Linked DNA regions of Homo sapiens: regions 2, 3, 4, 5, 6 and 7 are each linked to region 1. The links are contacts of gene promoters, found by promoter capture Hi-C in blood cells and fetal thymus (Javierre and others, 2016). All regions are on one chromosome and are shown on one strand. The core of a region is centred on a gene start or on the middle of the fragment in contact, and the rest is flanking DNA. Distances in the headings are between cores, read along the strand shown. Region 1 holds the start of OTUD1 (OTU deubiquitinase 1). Region 2 overlaps THNSL1 (threonine synthase like 1). Region 3 overlaps COMMD3-BMI1 (COMMD3-BMI1 readthrough). Region 4 has its middle 6.7 kb from the start of COMMD3. Region 5 overlaps ARHGAP21 (Rho GTPase activating protein 21). Region 6 holds the start of TRN-GTT2-3 (tRNA-Asn (anticodon GTT) 2-3). Region 7 overlaps LOC105376447 (a long non-coding RNA gene).

The links. Contacts are between HindIII fragments. The CHiCAGO score rates a contact against its expected background, and 5 or more counts as called.
Region 2: a contact is called between a fragment that was not itself captured here and the fragment with the promoter of OTUD1 in region 1, in 1 of 17 cell types (non-activated CD4 T cells). The highest score is 5.3, in non-activated CD4 T cells.
Region 3: a fragment that was not itself captured here is called in contact with the fragment with the promoter of OTUD1 in region 1 in 1 of 17 cell types (total B cells); the score reaches 5.2 in total B cells.
Region 4: a fragment that was not itself captured here is called in contact with the fragment with the promoter of OTUD1 in region 1 in 1 of 17 cell types (total B cells); the score reaches 5.5 in total B cells.
Region 5: a fragment that was not itself captured here is called in contact with the fragment with the promoter of OTUD1 in region 1 in 1 of 17 cell types (total CD8 T cells); the score reaches 5.1 in total CD8 T cells.
Region 6: a fragment that was not itself captured here is called in contact with the fragment with the promoter of OTUD1 in region 1 in 1 of 17 cell types (total B cells); the score reaches 6.9 in total B cells.
Region 7: a fragment that was not itself captured here is called in contact with the fragment with the promoter of OTUD1 in region 1 in 1 of 17 cell types (non-activated CD4 T cells); the score reaches 5.4 in non-activated CD4 T cells.

The regions. Positions count from the first base shown.
Region 1 is chr10:23,437,770-23,440,469 of GRCh38, forward strand. It overlaps OTUD1 (OTU deubiquitinase 1), which reads left to right and starts at 1,306. Exons shown (of 1, transcript NM_001145373.3): 1 at 1,306-2,700. The coding sequence starts at 1,689. RefSeq lists silencers at 1,035-1,624, 1,675-2,014, 2,155-2,524. The HindIII fragment of the contact is 7,031 bases long and covers 913-2,700 here.
Region 2 is chr10:25,018,439-25,021,138 of GRCh38, forward strand. All of the region lies in intron 1 of THNSL1 (threonine synthase like 1), which reads left to right. It also overlaps a transcript of ENKUR not described here. Among named protein-coding and RNA genes, the nearest start is that of THNSL1, 3.2 kb to the left of the region's middle. The HindIII fragment of the contact is 1,989 bases long and covers 443-2,431 here.
Region 3 is chr10:22,324,981-22,327,680 of GRCh38, forward strand. It overlaps COMMD3-BMI1 (COMMD3-BMI1 readthrough), which reads left to right. Exons shown (of 14, transcript NM_001204062.2): 6 at 1,451-1,581; 7 at 1,910-2,006; 8 at 2,615-2,670. BMI1 (BMI1 proto-oncogene, polycomb ring finger) reads left to right here. Exons shown (of 10, transcript NM_005180.9): 2 at 1,451-1,581; 3 at 1,910-2,006; 4 at 2,615-2,670. The coding sequence starts at 1,470. Among named protein-coding and RNA genes, the nearest start is that of BMI1, 5.2 kb to the left of the region's middle. RefSeq lists a silencer at 557-936. The HindIII fragment of the contact is 3,267 bases long and covers 1-2,700 here.
Region 4 is chr10:22,308,300-22,310,999 of GRCh38, forward strand. No RefSeq gene overlaps it. Among named protein-coding and RNA genes, the nearest start is that of COMMD3, 6.7 kb to the right of the region's middle. The HindIII fragment of the contact is 2,535 bases long and covers 180-2,700 here.
Region 5 is chr10:24,634,031-24,636,730 of GRCh38, forward strand. It overlaps ARHGAP21 (Rho GTPase activating protein 21), which reads right to left. Exons shown (of 26, transcript NM_020824.4): 5 at 981-1,073. Among named protein-coding and RNA genes, the nearest start is that of ARHGAP21, 89 kb to the right of the region's middle. The HindIII fragment of the contact is 246 bases long and covers 1,164-1,409 here.
Region 6 is chr10:22,227,234-22,230,044 of GRCh38, forward strand. TRN-GTT2-3 (tRNA-Asn (anticodon GTT) 2-3) reads right to left here and starts at 2,349; the gene lies at 2,276-2,349. RefSeq lists a silencer at 1,801-2,050. The HindIII fragment of the contact is 2,726 bases long and covers 1-2,651 here.
Region 7 is chr10:22,246,891-22,249,595 of GRCh38, forward strand. It overlaps LOC105376447 (a long non-coding RNA gene), which reads right to left. Exons shown (of 2, transcript XR_001747390.3): 2 at 530-2,705. Among named protein-coding and RNA genes, the nearest start is that of TRN-GTT2-3, 19 kb to the left of the region's middle. The HindIII fragment of the contact is 225 bases long and covers 1,343-1,567 here.

The DNA.
Region 1 (2,700 bases), core at 56-2,555:
GTATTTTCTATAGTCTATCTTGCCCCGGAATGCAGGTCACGACTTTCTCCACCGCTTTTGACCTCTGGCTAGCATTCACACCTATTCTCAAAGGGCCCTAAGTGATACTGCATTTGGTATTCTGAGAAAGCTTGTTTATAAAAGCCTAAAAGGCTTCCTTGCTTTCCCCCAAGCCAGATATTTGCCAAATGGCATAGGTCAGAGGTGCAAAGTTGGTTTTGTCTTAGCAAGGCAAGAGAATCCACTAGCGGACTCACCCTTACCGGTGAGTCCAAGGAAATGCATAGAAAAGACACAGTGGTAAAACTAGCTGGGCACCTGTAATCCCTGCCCAAGGCAAGGCTGAGGAAGGGGGATCACTTGGGCCCTGGAGGTCGAGGTCGCAGTGGGACATGATGGCGCCACTGCACTCAGCCTGGAAGGCAGAGCAAGACCTTGCCTCAAAAAGAAAAAGAAAAAAAAAAAAAGGAAAAGACGCGGCGGTTCCACGAGTGGTGGCTAGGACCCATAATCCCAACACTTTAGGAGGTCGAGGCGGGAAACAGCTTGAGGCCAGTAGTTCGACACCAGACTGGGCAACTGTGGTGAGACCCTCGCCTTAAAAAAAAAGAAAGAAAGAAAGAAAGAAAATTAGCCGGGTGCGGTGGTGCACACCTGTGGTTTCCAGTTACTCTGGAGGTTGAGGCGGGAGGATCGCTTGAGCCCGGGAAGTCAAGGCTGCAGTGAGCTATGGACTGCGCCACTACACTCTAGCTTCGGAGACAGGTAAGACCCCCATCTCTAAAAAGATAAAAGAAAAGAGGCAGTAGTGAATGCAAGCAGGGATGGTAGCCCATGACCAGCAGAGGCCAAACAGACTTTAAGGCAGCATTCCGTTCTCCACACCCATGCCGGAAGCTTTCCTGCCACGCAAGCTTTCCGAGCATGCTAACTCGCCCCAAGCAGCTCCCATCCCGCAGCATCCACTGCAGCCGCTGAGGAGAGTGGCGCAGCGCAGAAACCAGTGCCCAGTGCCCAGGTGGGGGAAGCGGTCCGTGGGAGTCACGTGGGCGGGAGGCCCAGCCAGGATCCCAGGACTGCTCAGGCCTCCGCGCCCCCGGCCTCGCCCCGCCCGCGCGCGCTCGCGCGCCGAGGGCCACGCCCGTGACGTCGGCGGAGCGCGGTAGGGGGCGGGGCGCGGGCCGGAGTGGGCGGGGCGAGCAGGCGCGACTGAATCGGGCGCCGCAAAGAGCCGCGCATTCCAGTGAGTCCACGTGACGCGGCCGCGAGGCCTGAGGTAAACAACCGCGGCCCCGCCTCCCGGGCCTCCGCGCGCACCGCGCTCCTCCTCGCCGGCGGGACGCGCTCCAACGGGGCGGGCGGCTTCCTCCGTGAGTCCCCAGCGGCCGCCGCGGGCCGAAGCAGCTGCAGCGGGCGCGGCGCCCCGGGTCTGCGGGCCGAGCGCACCGGCAGGGGTCGAGCTCGCGTCCCGTCCCCGCCCCCCTGCGCTGTGGCGCAGCAGGAATTTGGCCGGGACCCGGGCGCTATTCGCGGCTGCTGACTCGCGGCGGCCGGCTGCCTTTCGCTCATCTCTATTCTGGGGCCGTTGGGTCACCGCGCTCCGCCGGCCCCCTCCCCCGGGCCCGGAGGGTGTGTCCCCCGCTCCGGGGCTCGCCGCGCCTATAAGGGGCCGAGCGGCGGGCAGGGACATGCAGCTCTACAGCAGCGTCTGCACCCACTACCCCGCCGGGGCCCCGGGTCCCACGGCCGCCGCCCCCGCGCCACCCGCCGCCGCTACCCCCTTCAAGGTCTCGCTGCAGCCCCCGGGAGCCGCCGGCGCCGCGCCCGAGCCCGAGACCGGTGAGTGCCAGCCCGCCGCGGCCGCCGAGCACCGGGAAGCCGCCGCTGTCCCCGCCGCCAAGATGCCCGCCTTCTCCTCCTGCTTCGAGGTGGTGTCCGGGGCCGCCGCGCCCGCCTCCGCCGCCGCCGGCCCGCCCGGCGCGTCCTGCAAGCCGCCGCTGCCGCCGCACTACACGTCCACCGCACAGATCACCGTGCGGGCCCTGGGCGCCGACAGGCTCCTGCTGCACGGGCCCGATCCCGTTCCCGGCGCCGCGGGCTCCGCCGCTGCCCCGCGCGGCCGCTGCCTCCTGCTCGCCCCGGCGCCCGCAGCCCCGGTCCCGCCGCGGCGGGGCTCCTCGGCCTGGCTCCTGGAGGAGCTGCTGCGGCCCGACTGCCCCGAGCCCGCGGGCTTGGACGCGACACGGGAGGGGCCCGATCGGAACTTCCGACTGAGCGAGCACCGCCAGGCCCTGGCCGCCGCCAAGCACCGAGGCCCCGCGGCGACCCCGGGGAGCCCCGATCCCGGCCCCGGTCCGTGGGGCGAAGAGCACTTGGCGGAGAGGGGCCCCAGGGGCTGGGAGAGGGGCGGCGATCGCTGCGACGCGCCCGGTGGGGACGCGGCGCGGAGGCCCGACCCAGAGGCCGAGGCACCCCCCGCCGGGAGCATCGAGGCCGCCCCGAGTAGTGCGGCGGAGCCGGTGATCGTCTCCAGGTCGGATCCCAGAGACGAGAAGCTGGCCCTATACCTGGCCGAGGTGGAGAAGCAGGACAAGTATCTGCGGCAGAGGAATAAGTACCGATTCCACATCATTCCAGACGGCAACTGCCTCTACCGAGCTGTCAGCAAGACGGTGTATGGGGACCAGAGCCTGCACCGGG
Region 2 (2,700 bases), core at 187-2,686, 1.6 Mb after region 1:
TATGTTGCAACTACTCAGTTTTGCCATTGTAGCTCAAAAGCAGCCAAAGACGGTACTGAACAAATATGTGAGCACATGAATGACTGAAGTTGTGCTTCAAAGAAACTTGATTTATGAAAATGATGGTGGGCCAGATTTAGCCTGTGGATTGTAGTTTGCACAGATCCTAGATCCCCGTATATAATGGTATGCCTGTGATGTACATAAACAAATGAGAGTTGTTTTTTTTTTTTTTTTTTTTGCGAAGGATTATTTTAATCTATTTAAATGAATAAAATGGGTGTAGATGAGTATATAAGACAATTGGAAGGTAAATAAACCCTTTATAAAGACAGGTTCTTTATAATTCTCAAAGTTATAGAATTGTGGATACTAAAGTTTTCAATTAAATATTCGAGATCGTTAAGAATATGTCTAACAGCAGAAGTCTAACGGCAGAAAAAGCTTAGTCAGCTTTGATAGTAATATAAAGACTAAGTGATGAACTTGCAAAATTGTTTTAGTTGTGAGATCCTTGTGATTACAGAACTATACTGGATTGTGTGGTCCTTCCACCCTCACCTCTGTTTCATGGCAAGTGGGAGGCCCTCTGAATGAAAAGTTTGAGAGAATTTTTGGTCAGAAGTCAGAAGCAGTAGAGCTTAACCTCCTTTTGGCTAGTTTGTGTCCTGATACACAGTTAGTTCTCCATATCTGTGAATTTCCCATTCTCAGATTCAACTAATTACAGATTGAAAATATTTTAAAATTTTAGTTGGGCACAGTGGCTCATACCTGCAATCCAAGCACTTTTTGAAGGCCAAGGCAGGAAGACTGCTTGAGCCCAGGAGTTGGAGACCAGCCTGGGCAACATGGCGAAACCCCCTCTCTACTAAAAATACTAAAATTAGCTGGGTGTGGTGGTGCGTGCCTTTAGTCCCAGCTACTTGGGAGGCTGAGGTGGGAGGATTGCTTGAGCCTAGGAAGTCAAGGCTGTAGTGAGCCAAGATTGTGCCACTGCACTCCTGCCTGGGCAACAGAGTGGGAGCCTGTCTGAAAAACAAACAAAAACACGAAAATAATGGAACAGTAAAAATACCACAAACAAAAAAGCAAATTAGTACAACAGCTCTGTACCTAGCATTTGCATTGTATTATGTATTATAAGTTATTCAGAGATTAAGGTATACAGGAGGATGTGCACAGGTTATATGCAAATACTACACCATTTTATATAAAGGACTTGCACATCTGCAGATTTTTCTCACTCTAAAGTCAGTCCTATTAACTGCTAATTATCCAATATCCCTCTCAATGCTTAATCCAAATAATTGTTAAACACATGAAAGAGAAGAGTGTCAAGACCAAAAGCCTTGGAGTGCACTACCAGAAATTTCCCTCTATTCAACAGAACCATTTTTATGATCATTCAACAATATCCTCAAATCTTTTTTTTCCATTTCTCCGTGAATTAAAAAAATTTTAAATGAACCATGTGTAATGCTTTGGTGAAGTCCATATATATGCCTTCTATGTATATTCCCGAGTGGCCATTGCAGCAGACGTTCTCAAAAAAGAAATGAGGATGTCTTTTCCTCATTTGGTTGGTTAAAAAATGTTGAGCCCCTAAAATCAATTTGTGGTTAAATGTTACAAAATAAAATTTAGTATGTAGCTTAAAATAGAATATATCTTTATTGTTCTTTAGAAATAATATATATTATAGCACTTAACTGCCTTCTGCTAGTCTAAGGAACATGTTTGTGGGAAATAATATTGATACAGAATTTACAAATTGAACTGTCATAATTTTCTTTAAAATATATCTATATCTATATCTATATCTATATCTATATCTATATATATCTACCCCAAAGTCTTGAAAAAGGGAAGTGAAGTAAAATTTAAAAACAAGAGGGTAGAGGGGAACTAACATATAGGAAAAGTAAGATTGCAAAACATAAGGTGAAGGTAACATAATGTTTCCTTACAATCTACTTTTAATGAAGTTGATGTTAAGCATGGTAGCAAGCAATATAAAGCGGAAGAAAAGATGAAAGATTTACTGGGCCAGTATGGTGGTTCATGCCTCTAATCCCAGCACTTTGGGAGGCCAAAGTGGGAGGATTGCTTGAGTTCAGGAGTTCGAGATCAGTCTGGGCAACATGGTGAAACCCTGTCTCTAGAAAACCTACAAAAATTAGCTGGGTGTGGTGATGCACACCTGGTGGGAGGATCACCTGAGCCCAGGAGGTTGAGGCTGCAGTGAGCTGAGATCATGCCACTGCACTCCAGCCTGGGTGACAGTGGAAGACCCTTTCTCAAAAAAAAAAAAAAAATTACTGCTCATGAAAACCATCTACTCAGATTATATACAATTATTACTAATACAGGTATCAGAAAGTTATGTATTGCAAACTCAAAAAGAAGAAACTGTAATGTTACAAGCAAAAGCTTCCTGAATAGGAGGTTAATCAGACTGTTTTATGTAAGTGCCCTAAAAGCAGTTTGTGCTTTTAAAGTCCAGTACCAGAATATGGTTTAATAAAATAAATTGATGTTATGGTTCAAGTATATAATTCTTTCTGGTCCCTGGTTTACTTCAGGGAAAGGATTAGACTGTGCATGGCAAAACAGTTCTTGATTCGTGGGTGAACACCACGGTATTCTCTGAAGGTTTATAAACCAAACCATAAAAAAAATGCACCCTGCCTTGTACCT
Region 3 (2,700 bases), core at 163-2,662, 1.1 Mb before region 1:
GGTTGACAAGCTGTTGATTTAGCGTTGGAAATGGGCTGGTCACATGGTTCTGTACATATTGTCACTATTGTACCGATTAAAGTACTTTTTCTTGCCCCCAGCATAGTTTGTCCAAATAAAACACTGGGCTTTGCCCTCTCCTCTTCTTGTAAAACAGATTTCAGTTTTCAGCCTTTCCAAAACTTTGTATCGCTCATTTAATCTACAGGAGAGCGTCACATTAGAGAAGGAAGTTTTAAAGAGGTTCGGTTCAATAAACATCTCTGCAATTTGAGCCCTGACGGTTTCGGGCTAAGTGCACAGTTGGCAATTCTCAAAAAATCCCTTCGTGAAATTTCTGACCGAGTGATTGCAGACAGGACAGACCGAGAGAGTCGAGATCTGAAACCAGCTCTGCGCACCAAGTCGACGTGAAAAGAGGCCCCCGGAGTGTCCGAAATGGCCGGGAGTGCGGTTTGCATTTTCCTTTCGCGGGCGCTGCCGCAGGCTCCGGGGTCCCCGCCGCCCAGGACTGGGTCCCTGGTCCCCGATCCCCGCTCCCCGCTCCCCAGCGCTGTGGCCTCGTGGGGCTGCCCCGCCCCCCCGGCGTCGCCGCACCCACCCCGCCCCCGCGCCGGCCCCGCCCCCGCGGCGCGCCGCCCCTCCCCCGCCCGCCCGCCCGCCCGCCGCCCCGCACGCCCGCCGAGGCTCGGGGCTCGGGCCGGGCTCCGCGCGGAGTTGCAGCGGTGGCCGGATGCCAAGTGTAAGTGTAAGTTGCTATGGAAACCCCGACCGAGGCGAGTTCCGAATCCGGAGCGAGACGGAGCCCCGGGCGCCGCCGGATCCGCCCCTCGCATCCCGGCCCCCGGGCGTCCGCCGCGCTCAGGCCCCGGCCCAGGCCGACTGGAGGTGCTCCTCCTGCGGCCCCAGCACCCGGCTCCGGAAATGCCAGGGATGCAGGGAGGGCAGAATTGTTTTCCCTGCGCGTCGCGTAAAAACGTGCCAGGTTCTGCTTGCTGGAACCGTCTAAAACAACCGGAACCCCGGATTTTCACTTGCAGATTCTTGAGGAAGTTTTATAATAAATTCGGAGACCTGGAACAAGCCCTAGTGGTTGGTAAATATCCGCGGGGATTGTGTGGCGTCTGCAGCAGCCTTGGGGCTGCTGGGCTGGAGGACAAATGGAAGAAAGAGACCCTAATACGCTCAGCTCCCAGCCCCCACCCCAGACTTTCTTCTACCTACAGGAATGATCTGAGAGACCAGAAGTAATGTTAGTTGGATCCTTTTGCATCAGTTTGGTAGAACTGATTCCGATCTGATGAGTAAATTCCTTCTGTAGAAACGTTAGGACAGCCCAGCTGTACAGTGTTAAATGAGTTTTATAAATTCAGTGTTTCAGGGTTTGTGATTACTAGATGATCTCCATTCTTGTTCTGTGAATTATGGCCATTATTTCTGTGTCTTGCAGGATTTTTTATCAAGCAGAAATGCATCGAACAACGAGAATCAAGATCACTGAGCTAAATCCCCACCTGATGTGTGTGCTTTGTGGAGGGTACTTCATTGATGCCACAACCATAATAGAATGTCTACATTCCTGTAAGTACCGAGCTTTAGCTCTCTTTTGTATCATGCGTATTTCACAGTTCGACCTGGAATTTGAAAACTGTTAATGATTCCTGCAATCTGTGGAAATGTTGGTACAAAGTGGTGAAGGCATTTTCTTCTCTTGCATCTAATGACTTTTTGTTAATATGTATTGATTGTATTACAAGCATGCAATATATGTGTTCTCAGGATATGAATTAGCTTATTTAGTTGGAAATGCCTTTCACCATCTTGTTTTCTACTAGTTCTGGGTTTCTAACACCAATGATTTATCCACTCATTTCTAAACATAAAAAAACTTCACATGTTCTACTTCTAGTCTGTAAAACGTGTATTGTTCGTTACCTGGAGACCAGCAAGTATTGTCCTATTTGTGATGTCCAAGTTCACAAGACCAGACCACTACTGAATATAAGGTAGGAAACTGTTGAAATTCCTTGTTTGTAATTATTATTGGAGTTGTATAATTTACTGAAGGCAACCCTCTTTATTTCTTCACAGAAAATTTACTCTTGAATACATAACTAATATGTGTGTGCTTTGTGGAGGGTAGCCGTTTAATTTCTTGCCATATTAATGGTGACCAAGTTTAGACAAAGTTTAGTAGTATTCAAGTGATTTTAAGATTTTTTTTTCCTAACTGTCCTTTAAAAACTGAGTTAGTTCACCTTTTTTGCATTGCTTTATGGACTTCATGACAGGCAGGAATAAATATTTAAAAGGGCTTCCATTCCTCTTTATTCCCTATTCATATTAGCTAGTTTAGTAACTTGAAAGGCACACTTCTTTTGACAGAGCAAATGTGAAGAATTTATTAGTGAATATAAAATATTTTTCTACTGATTTAAAAAGTGCTATATACAGAGAACTTTTATTCTCATAGTTTTTATCTTATCAATAATAGTTATAGACAGCATCACAATCAAGTAAAATATTATAGCACAAAAGAAGACTATAGAAACTTATGAACATTTTTAGTTCTTGCCATCTGAATTCATAGTTTTCTATTTTAATTATTTTTCAGGTCAGATAAAACTCTCCAAGATATTGTATACAAATTAGTTCCAGGGCTTTTCAAAAGTGAGTAACTTGCTTAGAAAATGAATTTAA
Region 4 (2,700 bases), core at 197-2,696, 1.1 Mb before region 1:
TTTTTTTTTTTTTAAAAAACCATCTTAGGAATCATATTGAATATGTTTAAATCTAGCCAAGTTTTTATCTTTATACTTTTCTTAAACTTTAATACCATAAAAGAAAGCTAAGATAAAAAGCTTAAGCAAACACAGTTAGATTGTCTTTATACTATTTATAGCAATGGACAGATACTTAAAGCTTACTTAGCTAAAGATTTAAGTCTGTTACTTTATGACATATGCTTTCCCCCAACCCCTGTTAACACGGCAGGATGTTTGCAAAATGACTACTCTCCTGTAGTGACTCTTGATTTTAACCTAACAGACTATCATTATGACTCAGTTTGAACATTTGTCATCATAGATGTCATAGTTTCTACAAACAGACAAATATTGATCATAGCAACTTTTAGAAATAGAATAAAACCAAAATGAAATTAAAATTAATTTAAAAGTATTCGTTTGAAAACACTCTTTTAGGTTTCTAGAAGCACTTTAATTATTGGTTAAACTGACTTCTAAACATCTGTATTTTATATTTTTATTTATGTTCATCTTGCTACAAAAATAATTTAAGGCAACTTTCAAAAGTATATAAAAACATATGTAAGAATATTATTTTCCTTCTATTATAATTGACAAGTGCAAAATCAATTTTTTTCCAACATTTCCAGTATACACTGTTGAAAGTTCTTTATAAAGAAGAATGTATATTGCTATTGAAACTTATAAAACAAAATATGTATGTCTTTATTGATACTTTTGGTCTTATAAAACTATTTTTTATTTCAATTCATAAACATTTTAATTATTGTTTAAGCAAAAATAAAAGTTTTCTTATAGATCTATCAACTACTCACCTATATATCACAGCTAGGCCTAATTTAAAATTTTCTTTCATTTTCAAATTCTAAGAAAACCATTTGAAAATTCAGTTTTCTTAGGGCCTTGTTTACCCACATATTTCCATCTACATTGTTATTCTTTAGCAAATTTCTCCTGTTTTTGGTCTGTAATTTATAGAGCACTAAAAGTCAAATAAAAGTTGCCAATTATCTGATTAATTTTGATTTAGAATACTGCTGCTCTAAATGATCCGGCCTATTTCTGTTAGCATTAAAAAAAAAGAAAAAAGAAAAAAAGAAAAGAAAGTTGAGTAATTACGCCAGTAATTCAGGTCCAAGTTTCTAATTACATGGACTAAACTGACTATATAAATACAATTCTCCCTTTCACCTGTTGCTAGTCATTATTTTCTTGGTGTTTTGTTACATTAAAAAGATTTTATAAAACTTGCCTCCCCATCCCCTTTCATAAAATATAGATTAAAATGCTTACACAAAGAAAATTAATTTTGAAAATAACATTTGAGAGAGTTAGAAAAACATTTATGTTTTAACCTTAATAAAACAATGAAACAAAAGTTCAGGGAAAAACTGAGTATATGGGAAGAAACACAGTGGAAAAGTTTAATCTATTTTTTTAGGTGCTTGTTTTCTCAAAACTCTGTAAAACTACTTTCTAAACATTCACCACGGTGTAAAAATCAGCTACGTATAAACAATTCAAAGTATTTTCTGAATAGTTCTAGCTATGTAACAAATGTGAAAAAGCTGAACACAATTATTCTACTAGGATTTTTAAAAATGTAGTTTTTAGACTGACTTATCCATAAAATGGCTTCAAGTCTATATTTAATTTGAAAAGGGGGATAAAATCAGTATTCTGTTGAATATAACAACCATAATAGAAAAGTTAAATTCTTTTTTTTTGAGACAGAGTCTCACTCTGTTGCCAGGCTGGAGTGCAATGGCACGATCTTGGCTCACTCAACCTCCGACTCCCAGGTTCAAGCAATTCTCCTGCCTCAGCCTCCCTAGTAGCTGGATTACAGATGCATGCCACCACGCCTGGCTAATTTTTGTATTTTTGGTAGAGACAGCGTTTCACCATGTTGGCCAGGATGGCCTCGATCTCCTGACCTCATGATCCACCCACCTCGGCCTCCCAAAGTGCTGGGATTACAAGCGTGAGCCACCGCGCCCGGCCCAAAATGTTAAATTCTTAACCAGTATCATTTTAAATATTGTACACAATTAAAAATATTAAAACACTTATCTAGGCTTTCATTGCCATGTAAGCTCTTTTGAAATATTAATTTTGGTTTAAATGCTTACTTTAAATGAGTTAAAAGTACTTTAGCTGTAAAGTCTCCTTAACTGTTTATAATGTATTTAATGCAAATCATCCCTTCTTATATACTAACTTCCATTCTAAAATGCTTCATTTGACAAGTGAATATAGTTACATTTTTCAGTTTATAAGCAATTATACTGTTACTTTGGTTTTAATCTACAAAAACCTTTATTTTTGTTTTCATTTTTGTTTGTAAAATTATAGTTCCTTAAACAAAATATACTTATTTGTACACATTTTAACATGTAAAAAGCATGTTCTCAAAATACAAACTTGAAAAAGTTACTGGCTTTCAACAATAATATCCCACAGCATAGGCCCATTTGTTCCATTTTTTGCTGGAATTCGTGAAACCAACCCAAACTCCAATTTCTAAGGTATGAAAAAACACAGAGATTCCAAATCCAGACCTAAAAAACGAAGAGACTCTGTTAGACATTCTCTGCTGTTGTAGTCTAAATGTAGGACATCTTGAAACTGATTAGATTCTGGACAAAACAGATGATCTTTCAGTCTTTTCCA
Region 5 (2,700 bases), core at 37-2,536, 1.2 Mb after region 1:
AAAAGACAGAAACAAAGAACAGAGGAAAGAAGAAAATAGGCAAAAATGTACTTTTTGTGTGCTTATCACAGCATATCTCCACTTCATCTTCCCAATCATGTGGGGCTTAAAATACGACAGATGATACATTCTAAAGAAATCCCACATGCATACTAATATACATATTATACATATTAATGATATTTAAATCAGGCTTACTTTAAGTATAATAAAAAAAACTAAGGTGGGTAATACATTAACAGTACATCCTTATAAATCTTAGCAATGATGTCCACTACTTTCTAATATTTGTAGGTGAAAATATAGCATTGTATTTAAAAGGCAGTGAAATATAGCTTTTCAATAATTCCCATTTTAAATTGTCTAATGTTTAAAAAACAAAAGAAAAGAGTATTTTAGAGTGTGCACTAATATAAATGAAATCTCTACTTAGGGTTTATTAAAATCACAAATCACAAAACATTTTAGAACAAACAGCTACTATATCCAGCCAATTAAGCCACATATACTGACACCTTCAGATGAAGCCAGGCTTATGTTCCGCATTGGAGACTTAAGCCACTTTGTGCTGCAAATTAATTAACTCAACTCTGTCAGATCAGGCACTTCCAGAACTTGAAAATCCAAGATTATTTCACTTATATCAAATAAATACCTTCATCATTTTGCTACTTTGTAATCCTTTGTCAAAATTCAATGCATGCAAAATTTGTTCCTTTAAAGAGCCTCTAAGAGTCTATCATCTGTGTGGTAATTAAAAGTGCTCACAGTGTATCAATTTATATTGTTATTTCTGTTCAAACCCATTCATATGGGCACCAAGAAACATAATTAGTTCTCAAAATTAGTAACAACAGATGTGAAGGAAAAGGAAGAAGCATACAGAAAGATACAAAAGGAAAAAATATCGAACATGAAATATGGAAGAAATAAAGTGAAAAAGAAATTAAAACGTATTGTTTAAAGAAGAATATCAGCACCTGTACATAATCCAGCTTCAAAAGCAGGTCCTCCTTCTTTAACTTGCTTAACAAATATGGTATCCATTGGTTCCAAGCGGTTTCTTTGTTTTCCTGTTACAGAGAAGCCCAAAGCATGATTTTACTTCACAATACTTTACTAAAATACCTAAATATAAAATAGTATTTGAGAGAATTAAGCAAAGCTTTTTAATGAAATATTAAATACATATCCTGAATTTGGATGCTAAAATTATAATGTAGGGGTTTTCATTTAATTCAAACATTTATTTTGCTTCTTCCATAACATAATGACAACCACAACACTGTAATGCTTTCCATTTACTGGCTACATTCCGTATGTCAGTTGCCACACTAAATACTGTATCTCAGAGCTAATTTCCACAGCAAGTAAGTACTACTACTACCATTCATAAAAGAGGAAACTGAAGCTTAGAGGGATTAAATAAAGTCTCCAAGGTCAAACAGCTAACAAGTGCCAAAGATGATTACACAGGCGGTACTCACTCCATGGCTTTTGTTTTTTGTTTTGTTTTGTTTTGTTTTGTTTTTTTGAGATGGAGTCTCACTCTGTCACCCAGGCTGGAGTGCAGTGGTGCAATCTTGGCTCACTGCAACCTCCACATCCCGGGTTCGAGTGATTCTCCTGCCTCAGCCTCCTGAGTAGCTGGGACTACAGGTGTACACCACCCCGCCTGCTAATTTTTGTATGTTTTAGTAGAGACGGGGTTTCACCATATTGGCCAGGCTGGTCTCGAACTCCTGACCCCGTGATTCACCCGCCCTGGCCTCCCAAAGTGCTGGGATTACAGGCGTGAGCCACCGTGCCCAGCCTCTACTGCTTCTTAATACTGCATTGTGCTAAGCATTAAAATGTAACAATGAACAAGACATATTCCTTTCCCTTCAGGGAGTCTGGTAGGAGGAGAAAGACATACAAACAAATAACAGTATAGTATAAAAAACAATCAGAGACAAATACAAAATACAGTCATGGCAATGAGGAGAGCATGATCAACCCCGTAAGTCAGAATTTCACAAGCTGTTTTCCATGGATCATTGGCATTAACATCTAAGGTGTTTGCTAAAAATGGATGTTTTGGAGTCTGACCAGAAATCTGCTCTGTCAACAAGTTTCCCAGATGATCCTAATACACATTAAATTTTGAGAACAACTAGTTGTTTCAGTGAAATAGAAGTCAAGGAAAAATTCGCAGATGAGAGGACATTTAAGCTAAGTGACAAACAGCATAAGTATTGTGGGGGAAGAAGGAGGTACACGGTAGTTCTAAAGGTGTGGTCCCAGGACCAGCAGCATCAGTATCACCTGGGAATATGTTAGGAATGCAAATTTGTGGACCCCACCCTAGATCTCCTGAATCAGAAACTCTGAGGTGATTGTGATGCACACTTAAGTTTGAGAATCACTGAAGTAGAAGACACAGTCCTGACCCTTAAAGAAGAATGTAACTGAGAAAATAAGGCATATACATGTGTTGAGTAACATGATACTACTTGTTAAACAGCAATACTGGGCAAAAAATGATTGAGTGTCAAATACAAAGAGTTCATAATTATTGCCATATAAAACTGAATTGTTACCATAGTGTATGCACCAAGATGGCTTAAAGGAAGTTACTTAATAAAGGAATATCTATCACTAGCTCCCCTTAAATACTTAGCTATTTATTCTGAAAGACGCCCTCCAAAGCAATGAATG
Region 6 (2,811 bases), core at 39-2,538, 1.2 Mb before region 1:
TCCTCAGAAATAGCATTTATTGCAACATCAACAACCATGACACGTTGAAATTTTATAAGGCCAATGCATCCATAAATATTTGTGCAATTCTTCCAAATTGTTGCCCACCTACCTTTTTTTTTTTCTTGAGACAGGGTCTCACTCTGTCACCCACGCTGGAGTGCAATGAAGTGATCACCATGCTGGGTTAATTTTTTATTTTGTGTAGAGATGCTGTCTCATTCTGTCGCCCAGGCTGGTCTCCAACTCCTGGGCTCAAGTAATCCTCCTGCCTTGGCCTCCTAAAGTGCTGAGACTACCGGTGTCAGCCACCCACACTGGGACCCACCTATCTTACCTGCCTGCAAGAGCCAAGGAAATGGCCTAAGCACTTGTCCACATAATCACAGCAACTGCTTCTGCTTACATTAGAGGGGAGTTTTGCACTCAGTGTGACACCTCCATTCCCATTTAATTCTCCTCCATTTTCTGGTCTCTAAATCATATTAATACCCAAAATAGGGTGAAATAGAATGTATTTAGAAATTTAAGATCAAATTTTAAACTGCCACCTAGGCCCCTGGTCAAGTACAAATTCTGGTACTATCTCACAAAAGTGTCCTGAAACAGGGGTCTACGTGGATGTGCCAATTCCCAAACATCAGCTTGGGGTCAAAGAATCCTTAGTCTCTAGACTCCATGGCCTGAATCTATCCTGAATCTGTCTCCTTCCAGATTTTGCCTGCCTCTCTCTCTCATCTTGCCTTCTGTACCTAAATGCTAACAAATTGTTTCCCTAAGACAGATTCCCCAGGAATACTTCCTATGCACACACAGCTTTCATTTGAATAAAATTGAGCAGCCCAATGAATGCATAATTTAACAATGCCCTTTAGCACGCCACAAATGTTGTGTTGGTTTTTATTTTACCCCCTTTACAAGATTTGGAGCAAAATATTAACGAAACTTCATAAAAACCAATTCAAGTATCTTTTGGTTTCAAATTAACTAATTAGGTAGCTGTATTTTAGAGGAAGGAACTTCCAAGAAGGCAGTACATCAGGGAGGAGCTTGGGCTTGGGCCTGACTACCCAGGTTCCAAACTCACTGTGACTTCCGGCAAATTACTCAGCTATTTACTCAGTCGCACTGTGCCTCAGTTGCCTCATCTGTACAATGGCAATAATAGGACCTGGAAGACTTATGAAGATTACATACCTTTCTCCACGAAAGCACTCAATAAAATAAGCCTTTATTAATATGTCAACTGAGCTGAAACATAACGAATATAAAACAATATATCCACAGGAATAAGATGTATTAGTTCTTACACTTTTCTTCAAAACTGTCTTTCAATTTTCTGTAGTCCAAGCCAAAACAATAATTATTATGATGAAACTATGATTATTTCTCAAAGTAATAAAATAGAAGGAAACTATTTTGAGAGGGCTTTGCATTTGGGGAAATAAAAGGTAGGGGACGTTGAAAGTAGAAAGTTGAAGCAAAGTATGGTAGCAGCTTCACATTCAATCTTTCTCATCATTCTTTTTTTTCAGGTTTAACAGTCATACTATTGTAAAAGAGGTTTTCTCCTTTTCCGCCTTGATGGGAAGTGTTGCAGGCTTATTCTATTCTCTACTAAATTCAAGCGTTTTAGTAGAAAAAGTAAAATATAATATATATTCTTACAATATTGTCCACACGAAAGATTTACTACACAAAAATTATTTCTGAAGGCATTAATACCAGGAACAATTAATGTTTAAGTCGCAAACGGAGATGTTTACGCTGACAGGGAACAGACAAAAGGGCGGCCATGCTTCAACAAAATGTAGGAGTTTTCAGTTTGCAGCTTGAACTTGACACTGTTGAAATACATGCATTTCGGTGGCCCCGTTACATTTCACGCGTCACGAAGCCGAGCAAGACCAGCCCGGGCCGCCTTCCCCGTGTACGCGCGGGCCTCCGGGGACGCGCAGAGCTGGAGCGGCGGGCGCGCGCGGCAAACGGGCCCGCGCGGCCTCTGCGCGTCCCCGCTCCAGCACCCTGGCGAGGCCTAGACCGCCGTGAAGACCCCGGGGAAGGAGTGGCCGCGCTCACCTGCAGCCGGGAGAGGACAGCGGGGGAGAGGAGGCCGCTCTGCACCGGCCGAAAGCGAAGGGCTCGCCGGCTGGCCGCGTAGTGTAAGGGTCGGTGGTTTCTTTGCTTGGTCCCTGGAAATCCACCCCTTCTTATCCCGGAGGCCTGAACTCGATTTCTGCAAAACTTCCCGCGACCAGCTCATAAAAGGAGAGCGCGTCCCTGGGTGGGCTCGAACCACCAACCTTTCGGTTAACAGCCGAACGCGCTAACCGATTGCGCCACAGAGACTTCGGTGTCATTTTCCCCTTCTGCCTCAGCCTTTATGAAGAATAATAAAGGCAGTGTGTGGCTGTTTCTGCTTTCTGATTGGTACTATCAGAACCAAAATATTTTACTTCACGTTTCCAACCCTCTTAATTCTATTTTCCACCTTTTAAGCATATCGCAAAATTATACAACAAAATCAAGCAGCATTGCAGATTGCAAAATGTATTAAAATACTGTTGCTCCCCCCCGCCAACTCCCATTTGGAACGTTGTATTTCAGGAAAATAACTATTTCTTATTAGTTTTCTTTTATGAGAAAATCAAAGCTTTCATCTTGTGAGCTGAGAAACTTTCCCTTTGTTTCGAACAATTTGCCCAGTGCTTCGTTCGCTCATCTCTCGTGATTTACTTGTGTAGTATTCCCAAGGTCATCTGAATTTTATTTGGCTGCTTTATTTTTATATTCAGGTATTACTAAATGCAT
Region 7 (2,705 bases), core at 205-2,704, 1.2 Mb before region 1:
AAGATATTTTAAGGGAGTGATGGCTTTCAGGGAGATGTAGCTGACAGTGTTTACTGCCTACCCAAAAACCATTCCTCTGTTTCTTCTTTGCTTAACTGAATTCCAGTTTGATTTAGGCATTGAGCAAATTCCCTTTGATGTGGAAATGTGGGCCTCTACCCCAGATAAAGGGTGATAATATGTCCCAGTTCTGGCTAATATGATGTAAGAGGAAATCCTTTGGTGGGGCATTTTGGAAAATATTATACTTCCTTGACGTGAGTAAGACTCACCAAGAACAAATTTTCTGTTGCCTTCCCACCCAGCAGTCAGTGTGGTTTTTGTACTTACGGCAGCCATTTTGCAACTATGATATGAAGGTCAACTGAATCACAGAGGTGATATCACTGAACCCCCAAGAAAACACTAGCAACTCTTTATCTACAGACTTCTTGTCACATAAGAAAAATGAGCCTCTGTGTTAGCTGGGTTGTCTGTTACATTCTAACTGATATAAGAAGAGAGAAAAGAGAGACAAATGAGAGACCACTGTTCTTAGTGAATATATTACAACTAGTACAGTTTGGTGGCTGCAGGATACAGAGTTTGTTTGGTAATTTTGGAAAGAGGCTGGAAATGGAAAAGCAATGGGTTACAGGGGCTTCTAATGCCAATGAAGAGAAAGGCTTTAATTTTGTTGGCAATAGGGGGCTATAGAGGTTTTGGGGTAATGTTTTGGAACTTTAAGAAGAGTGCTTTGGCAGAAATCAGCAGGGTCTATATGTGCCCAAAGAGTGATGCCTCAGAAGCAATGCATTTGGCATAATCATATTGGTATTGTCCACCACGAGAATCACTTGGTATACAAACCTGGCTCACTCAGTTCACACTGAATAAGCAAAACAATAACCACTTGGCTTCATGATGCTTTTCGACCTAAAATAAACACAAGGTATCAAAGCAAATGAAATGTTACATCTTTCCAGTGCTCCATATGAATAATCCCTGTGGAAGTTATAAGTAAACAAAACTTCTGTTCATAAAAAGTATCAATGACAGATGTAAATACTGTATAAACTCCTGCCATATAAAAGGAGAAAATGAGATCTCACATATCCTTCCACAATACCAATTCCTGACACTTAGCACAACAAATTAGACACACTTAATAATTATTACACACTAGGCTTGAGATTATTCAATAGTTTTTTAACCGTGTTTCTATAATGGTGTGGAGGTTTTTGTTTGCTCACTTTTTAAAAACATTTTCCACGATTTCATTATAGGAGAATAAATGCTCTTATACATAGTCATAGTTTCAAATATGTTTCTGTTCTTCTCATTTAAATCTACTCAGAAAACAAGCTTACAACAGAAGCCAAACTAGGAAAATCTCTGCTGTGAGTATCATATAATATTCAAACACTGCCCAGGAAAAACACTGGGGAATGGTGTTTTCTTTGCCCTCAAAGAAAAGCACGTGAACACCATCTTACAAGATTATTATTGACTAAGGAAAAGAAATGTGTCATTTGTTCATTCTTTAGACTAGGAATTGATGTTAGAGATTTTTAAATAAATTATAACAAGCTTTTAACAATCTACAAAGAACAAAAAGTGTTAATGTCTTCCCATAGTTGCCTCTGATCTTTTTATAAAGAATTGCTGTGGGCTGGGCGCAGTGGCTCATGCCTGTAATCCCAGCACTTTGGGAGGCTGAGGTGGGCGGATCAACTGAGGTCAGGAGTTCGAGACCAGCCTGGCCAAAATGGTGAAACTCCGTCTCTACTAAAAAACACAAAAATTAGACGGGCATGGTGGCAGGTGCCTTAACTGGCTACTTGGGAGGCAGAGGCAGGAGAATCATTTGAACCCGAGAGGCGGAGGTTGCAGTGAGCCGAGATCGAGTCATTGTACTCAAGCCTGGGGGACAAAAGCAAGACTCTGTCTCAAAAAAAAAAAAAAAAAGAGTTGTTGCCCCCTGGGCAGGAAGTTGTTGCCCTCTTCCTATTCCCCCTCCTTCCTTCTTTCTTTCTATCCCAAAGGAAATTACATTTTTTGAAGTTGATATGTATTCATCCTATTGATAGTACTATACTTTCACTTCATATGTATATATCCTGGCCCACATCTTTTATTTATGAAATTCATTATACATAAATTAGTAAATTCTTTCTATATAAGTTATTTATACATTTTGAATATGAATCCTTCACCAAGTACATGCCTTGAAAATATCTTCTCAGTTTATCTTGTAACATTTTATGATATCTTTTGTCATGTAAAAAGTATTTTTAAAAATTTTTATATACAGTCACATGGCACTCAACTACAGGGACATATTCTGAGAAATAGGTCCATAGGCAGTTTTGTCATGCTAACATCATAGAGTGTAATTACACAAACCTAGATGGTTTGTATATGGTACAAGCCTATTGCTCCTAGGCTGCAAACCTGTACAGCATGTGACTGTATTGAATACTGTAGGCAATTGTAACACAATGGTATTTGTATAATTAGACACATCTACACATAGAAAAGGTACAGTAAATATACAATATTATAACCTTATGGGACTATTATCATGTATTGACTAACATATCATTATTTGGAGCATGACTGTCATCCAATTGATCATTTCCTTAATGGATTGTGTATTTTAATGTTTTGTTTAAGAAATCCTTTCATACTACAAATTCTATATTTCCTTTCAATTTTTTTTGTTT